Regions from separate parts of the Homo sapiens genome. Here region 2 is linked to region 1. Evidence: promoter capture Hi-C in 16 types of primary human blood cells and fetal thymus (Javierre and others, 2016). All regions are on one chromosome and are shown on one strand. The core of a region is centred on a gene start or on the middle of the fragment in contact, and the rest is flanking DNA. Distances in the headings are between cores, read along the strand shown.

The links. The method cuts DNA at HindIII sites, captures the fragments that hold promoters and counts their contacts. A CHiCAGO score of 5 or more calls a contact.
Region 2: a contact is called between the fragment with the promoter of PPP1R12C here and the fragment with the promoter of LINC01530 in region 1, in 2 of 17 cell types (non-activated CD4 T cells and total CD8 T cells). The highest score is 11.3, in non-activated CD4 T cells.

The regions. Positions count from the first base shown.
Region 1 is chr19:51,593,117-51,596,833 of GRCh38, reverse strand. It overlaps LINC01530 (long intergenic non-protein coding RNA 1530), which reads left to right and starts at 2,454. Exons shown (of 2, transcript NR_034159.1): 1 at 2,454-2,885. RefSeq lists a silencer at 1,537-1,704 and enhancers at 1,787-1,836, 2,047-2,356, 2,103-2,738, 2,739-3,374, 3,375-3,717. The HindIII fragment of the contact is 8,842 bases long and covers 1,320-3,717 here.
Region 2 is chr19:55,115,964-55,119,555 of GRCh38, reverse strand. It overlaps PPP1R12C (protein phosphatase 1 regulatory subunit 12C), which reads left to right and starts at 1,919. Exons shown (of 22, transcript NM_017607.4): 1 at 1,919-2,333. The coding sequence starts at 2,013. RefSeq lists enhancers at 1,564-1,843, 2,804-2,883, 3,284-3,333, 2,688-3,523 and silencers at 1,904-1,983, 2,174-2,253, 2,274-2,373. The HindIII fragment of the contact is 6,736 bases long and covers 990-3,592 here.

The DNA.
Region 1 (3,717 bases), core at 1,205-3,704:
TGCAGTGAGCCGAGATCGTGCCATTGCACTCCAGCCTGGGTGACAGAGCGAGACTCTGTCTCAAAAAAACAAAAAACAAAATGTAACTGCTAATGGCCGACGAGGCCCTACAGGCTCTGGCTCCTTGTTTCTCTGTCCTCATCTCCTTCCACTCTCCTTCTTGCTTACTGGTGTCTACTCTTGAGTACCCCCAGGAACACTCTTGTCTCTAGTTGTTTTCACTGGCTCTTCTCTTTGCCCAAAGCACTCTTCCCTGTCACTGAGCCATCAAGCAGCCCTCAGGACTCAACTGCGGTGATGTCAGGTACATCTGTCACAGCGGAGCAAAGTCCCCTTTGAAATACTTTCTCCCACAGCTTTTGATTTAGTCCTCCCTCTTTGTTCTTGTTTTTTGCCTCCTGCTTAATATCTTCTGGGGAGGCCTCTTCACAGTCCTCATATCCTGCCCATCACCCCTCTTCTCATTCTGTTTGTGGGTGACTCTGAATCGCAATGTCCACCAGCCTGGCCCTCCAAATGCCCCACGGAAGATCCCATCTAGGCCTCTCATATCTCAGTGCCCAACTGACCAGCTCTCACACCCCAAGGCAGAAACTTACCTAACCAAGCTCCCCGTCTCCCGGAAGCAACACCACCTTTCACCCAGCTTCTCTATGGAAGACAACTCAGCTTTTTCAACCTCTGAATCTGCAGTCACCTAGTACTGGGGTTCACTTCCTGAGGTCCTTATCAGATCCAGTTGCATCCCTGTTTTAGTTACCTACTCACCTCAGCCAGATGAACTTCCCATTGGTTTTTCAACCCCTTGCATCTTTGGCCAGGCTGATCTCATTGCGCAAGACACTTCCCTAAACACTGTGGTAGACCTAACTCTTACCTTCAAGTCTCAGCTCAAACTTTCATTCATTCATTTAACAAATACCCACTGAGTGCCGCCTATGTACCCAGCATGCTCTAGGTACTGGGACACAGCAGTGAGCAAGATAGGAAAGGTTGCAGCTGTCAGGGCACTGATGTTCTAATGGAGGAACCAGGCCATGGATAAGGAAGTAAATGACTAAGATGCTTTCCAAATACGAGGGAATTATCTTTGGTGGTATGACTGGGGGGGGGGGAACAGGGAGGGGGTTCTTTAGGGTGGCTGGAGGCCTTTGAGCTGAGGCCAACAAAATGAGTAGACAGATATTGGGTCAGGGTGGGAAGAATGCTCCAAATTGAGTTAATAGCAAATGCAAAGGACATGAAGGGCAGGGCCTGGCTGTGTTCAGCCCATTGGAAAGTGTGTTGTGACTGAGGACGACCAGAAAGGACCAGAAGCTTAGAGGTTGGCAGGATAAGGAGCTTGGATTTTATTCTGAGATGGGAACCACTGGATGATTTTAAGCTGGGGGGCAGGGTAGTGACTGGTGACAGGATCTGATTTATATTTCCACAGGCTTCCTGGCACTGTGCCTGAATAGAGGGTGGAGTGTGGCAAGGGAAGAAACAGAACAGTGAGGAGGCCCCTGCAGTGATGCAGGTGAGGAGTAACGGTAGCTCGGAGCAGAATGGAGACAGTGGAAGTGGAGAGAAGTGGTTAGATTCTGGGCCTCTTCTGGAGATAGAGACGATGAGACTCACACAAGATTTGGTTGCGGGAGGGAAGCGGATGAGAGAAACAGAACACTGGCGACCATTCCAAGATTTTGGCTTGAGCACTTGGATGGACAGTTAGTGGGGAGGAGGCAGAAAGATTGTGAGAGGAGCAGGTTTAGGACAGGGAATCTGGGATTTCGTTTGGATGTGGTAGATTTGAGGTCCTTTGCTCTGTAAGGTCTTTCCTGAACCCTGGGCTGGGTCTAGCACCTCCTCTGTGTTCCCACAGCCTCCTGAGCACCCCCTGGGCCAGCCCTGACCACTCTGTGTTGTAACCAGGACAGAGGAGGGTGCACTCGCACTGCACCCAGGTTGAAGGGCGAGAGTGAGAAGGTGTCAGGCTGGGCCGCAGAATCCAAAGCGGGTCAGCAGGTACAACAGCTGCTTAGAGCACTCCCACCCGGAGAGAGGGATTGAGAGATCACGGAAAAGGGTGCCATCTTTCCAGGGACGCCTACCAGAACGCGGGGGAGAGAAATACAGAGACCCTCAACTCCGCCACGTCATCGCGACAAAGGGCCAGGACCGGCCGGCCGCGGGATGGGCGCTCACCTGGGCAGAACTGGAGCTGGAAGGGCCAACCTCCAAAGAAACGAGGAGCGGGCGGAAGGACTACGACTCCCGGAAGGCTTTGGGCCCATCCGCCTACGACTCCCAGGTGCCCCTGCGTTGCGTCGTCCCGAAACACTTGCGGCTCTCGGACAAACTGGGCCTACAGTTCCCAGAGATCCTCGCGGCAGCGCTGCGCATTCTGCGCACGCCTCCCAGAGTGTACTAGGCCGGTCCGGCCCGCTTCCCGTCTGCGCCTGCGCAAGCACAATAGCCGTGCCAGAATTCTCTGCCAGCTGCTGTGCACTGCTGTCAGTGCAAAGATGGGATGGACTTTTTTTTCAGATTTTCTGCTGTTGTGGGAGTATGGCAAGAGTTTGAGGGGGCGGAGAAAGAGATTGGGAATGTGAAAAGGGAAGATAGCACCTGCGCTAAGCACATTCCTAGGATTGGGCCGCGTCTCGGGGATGCAGAGTGGGCTCTTCGGCGCGCCCTGCAGCCATGGGAGTGGACGCCTGCCCAGGCCGAAGGGCAAGGACTTGCGGGGTGGGGTCTCTGTGCATGCGCGGAGCTGAAAGGGAGCGTTTTGCAGATCTCCACGCGTGCGCAACTCTCGGGACGTGGACGCGGTGAACAGTTACGCACAATCGTCTTTCTGACACAAACACACCCTGCCAGGTGGAAGCCAGGATGGAGGGCAGGTGAGACCCGTAAGGCAAGATCCCAAAACCAAGGAACGGAGCACTCTCCCCGCTTGCTCCCCAGATCCAAGCCCTCCACTTCCTTCCAATGCCCCCCTTCCCGAAACTGCTCCCTCCTGTATATTCTGAGATCTTATCACTATTCCCGTGAGGCCCTTGATAAGGAGGATTGAGAGTGAAGGGTGATGGGAGACACGCCTTGGGCGTCTTCTGTCCACCTCAAGGATTGAACTTTGGTAACTGGAACTCATTCATTTGTTAATCTGTGTGCTAGGCCCTTTGACCCGCTGGCCAGATGCACCGGGACACAGGTGTATTCAGCCTGGTCCAGAGATAAGGATGATAAATCTTAATGTAAAGGTATCAGATGTTAAGGGCTGCAGGAGCCCAGAGGTTACAAGTGCTGCAAGCCAGAACATGGGGAAACAACAGCAATTAAGCCGTTAGCTTGTGCCTTGGAGGGGTGTTTGCCCTGCACCCCACTCACTACCTGAAGATAAATGGCTTCTCCAACGTGTAGTGGGGTTGGGATGATGAGGATGACATCACTGCCAGGTGGGAGGCAGGAGCTGCAGGTCCTGACATGATGAGGCAGGTATGGGCCGCCCTGGGCTGAGGGGGACATGGGCTACCCTGGACTGGAGGGCTGGGCTGTGGCATGGGGACCCTGTCAGAGACAGGTGTTTGGCCTCCATGCCTTCCTGTGTCTCTGGAAGGGTGAAACTAAGCGGGATGCTCCTCTCCCAGCCCCACCTGCTTTTCAGAGGCTACCATATGCTGGAGGGGGAAGATCCTGGCCACAAGCAGAGGCCCTGGAGGTGAATCAGTGTTG
Region 2 (3,592 bases), core at 670-3,169, 3.5 Mb before region 1:
CGGGCGTGGTGGAGCACGCCTGTAGTCCCAGCTACTCAGGAGGCTGAGGCAGGAGAATCGCTTGAACCCGGGAGGCAGAGCTTGCAGTGAGCCGACATCGCGCCACTGCACTCCAGCCTGGGCGACAGAGCAAGCCTCCGTCTCAAAAACAACAACAACAACAAAAAAAAACAAAACTACTGACAAGTTGCTCTACTTAACCCAAAGAAAGTGAAGGAGAAAGCGGCTGCCTCACCGCCTAGACATTGAGTCGCCGGATGTTTCAATGCCTCATGATACAATAAAACCACAAAAATTTTCGTAACAGCAGCAGCAACAACAACAACAAAAGAGAAAGAGAGAGGGAAAGAAACAGGCCTCGTGGGATGCGCAGTTTACGTCTCCGCGCAAACCCAAGGACTTCAGAGTGGGTGGGAAACTCCCACAGCGCTTGGGAAACAGTCTGTAGTCTCTGTCCCGATTTTGGCCCTTTTCTGTATGATTTTTATGGGACTCTTCCTGTCACAAAGTGCCAGCCACCTTCCCAATCTTGAGTTGGGCGCGGGATCCGTAAGGTGAAGATCAAGGTGTGCTCATCGCTTGGGCCCGCTGAAAGGTGATTCGCCCCCCACCTGCTGGAACTCCTTGCCCGGGACCACCAATCCCAGCATGCCTTGAGAGCGCGCGAGGGCCTGGGCGGTTCCCAGGAGGTCCGGGTGGGCGCAGGAGAAGCGCGGGCCAGTGAAAGCTCTGAGAGCCCTGTCCCTGTGGACACTGTGTCTTGGGTTCCTTTACTCGGTGTGGCTCAGGGATTACCATTAGGGAGTGGAGTGTGGATTTCTCTTGCCCCGAGCCCTAAATGCCTTGGGGCCCTGCCTTGCACCCCACTGTGCTTTTAGGGGTGTGGCCCTGTGGGCTACATTTCCCAGCGTGCCCTAGGATCGTGGTCCTGACCTTTTCACCGCAAATTTCATTTCCCAGCATGCCCTGCGAGGTCACCCAGGGAAGCTTGGAAGTGGACTGTCTTTCATGGCTTCTAGGTTGCGGACTCAGTTTCCCATGGTGCCCTGGTGAACCCATTCATTCATTCATTCCAAAAATATTTGCGATCAGGTTCTCTCAGGTTCTGTTCTAAGAACCGAGGACAAGTAGTGCACAGAAGACAAAAGATCCCGCTCTCGTGGAGCTTATTTCTAGTTAAGGGGTCAGGAAAAAAACCAAAATAAATAAAACCCAGCTGGGCATGGTGGCTTACGCTCGTCATCCCAGCAGGATTACAGGCCGAGGCGGGCGGATCATGAGGTCAAGAGATCAAGACCATCATGGCCAACATGGTGAAATCCCGTCTCTACTAAAAATATAAAAATTAGCAGGGCGGGGTGGCGCGCGCCTGTTATCCCAGCTACTCTGGGGACTGAGCCAGAATTGCTTGAACCTGGGAAGCGGAGGTTGCAGCGAGCCGATATCGCGCCACTGAACTCCAGCGTGGCGACAGAGCGAGACTCCGTCTCAAAACAAAGAAAACAAAATAAAACAACAATAACAAAACAACTCTGCCTCTCCCCGCACTCCCTCCCACGCGGCTGTCCAGTCGAATTCCTAACTGCCCCGGGGCAGTCTGCTATTCATCCCCTTTACCCGGTGCTACACACTTCCTAGTATGCCGTGGGGCACCCCTCCGGCCTGTAGACTCCATTTCCCAGCATTCCCCGGAGGAGGCCCTCATCTGGCGATTTCCACTGGGCGCCTCGGAGCTGCGGACTTCCCAGTGTGCATCGGGGCACAGCGACTCCTGGAAGTGGCCAAGGGCCACTTCTGCTAATGGACTCCATTTCCCAGCGCTCCCCGCGACCTGCCCAGCACACCCTGGGGCAGCGCCGTGACGTCAGCACGCCGGGCGGGGACCGGGAGATCCTTGGGGCGGTGGGGGGCCAGCGGCAGTTCCCGGCGGCCCCCGGGGCGGGCGGGCGGGCGGGTGGTGGCGGCGGTTGGGGCTCGGCGCTCGCTCGCTCGCTGGGCGGGCGGGCGGTGCGATGTCCGGAGAGGATGGCCCGGCGGCTGGCCCGGGGGCGGCGGCGGCGGCTGCCCGGGAGCGGCGACGGGAGCAGCTGCGGCAGTGGGGGGCGCGGGCGGGCGCCGAGCCTGGCCCCGGAGAGCGCCGCGCCCGCACCGTCCGCTTCGAGCGCGCCGCCGAGTTCCTGGCGGCCTGTGCGGGCGGCGACCTGGACGAGGCGCGTCTGATGCTGCGCGCCGCCGACCCTGGCCCCGGCGCCGAGCTCGACCCCGCCGCGCCGCCGCCCGCCCGCGCCGTGCTGGACTCCACCAACGCCGACGGTATCAGCGCCCTGCACCAGGTCAGCGCCCCCCGCCCGGCGTCTCCCGGGGCCAGGTCCACCCTCTGCTGCGCCACCTGGGGCATCCTCCTTCCCCGTTGCCAGTCTCGATCCGCCCCGTCGTTCCTGGCCCTGGGCTTTGCCACCCTATGCTGACACCCCGTCCCAGTCCCCCTTACCATTCCCCTTCGACCACCCCACTTCCGAATTGGAGCCGCTTCAACTGGCCCTGGGCTTAGCCACTCTGTGCTGACCACTCTGCCCCAGGCCTCCTTACCATTCCCCTTCGACCTACTCTCTTCCGCATTGGAGTCGCTTTAACTGGCCCTGGCTTTGGCAGCCTGTGCTGACCCATGCAGTCCTCCTTACCATCCCTCCCTCGACTTCCCCTCTTCCGATGTTGAGCCCCTCCAGCCGGTCCTGGACTTTGTCTCCTTCCCTGCCCTGCCCTCTCCTGAACCTGAGCCAGCTCCCATAGCTCAGTCTGGTCTATCTGCCTGGCCCTGGCCATTGTCACTTTGCGCTGCCCTCCTCTCGCCCCCGAGTGCCCTTGCTGTGCCGCCGGAACTCTGCCCTCTAACGCTGCCGTCTCTCTCCTGAGTCCGGACCACTTTGAGCTCTACTGGCTTCTGCGCCGCCTCTGGCCCACTGTTTCCCCTTCCCAGGCAGGTCCTGCTTTCTCTGACCTGCATTCTCTCCCCTGGGCCTGTGCCGCTTTCTGTCTGCAGCTTGTGGCCTGGGTCACCTCTACGGCTGGCCCAGATCCTTCCCTGCCGCCTCCTTCAGGTTCCGTCTTCCTCCACTCCCTCTTCCCCTTGCTCTCTGCTGTGTTGCTGCCCAAGGATGCTCTTTCCGGAGCACTTCCTTCTCGGCGCTGCACCACGTGATGTCCTCTGAGCGGATCCTCCCCGTGTCTGGGTCCTCTCCGGGCATCTCTCCTCCCTCACCCAACCCCATGCCGTCTTCACTCGCTGGGTTCCCTTTTCCTTCTCCTTCTGGGGCCTGTGCCATCTCTCGTTTCTTAGGATGGCCTTCTCCGACGGATGTCTCCCTTGCGTCCCGCCTCCCCTTCTTGTAGGCCTGCATCATCACCGTTTTTCTGGACAACCCCAAAGTACCCCGTCTCCCTGGCTTTAGCCACCTCTCCATCCTCTTGCTTTCTTTGCCTGGACACCCCGTTCTCCTGTGGATTCGGGTCACCTCTCACTCCTTTCATTTGGGCAGCTCCCCTACCCCCCTTACCTCTCTAGTCTGTGCTAGCTCTTCCAGCCCCCTGTCAT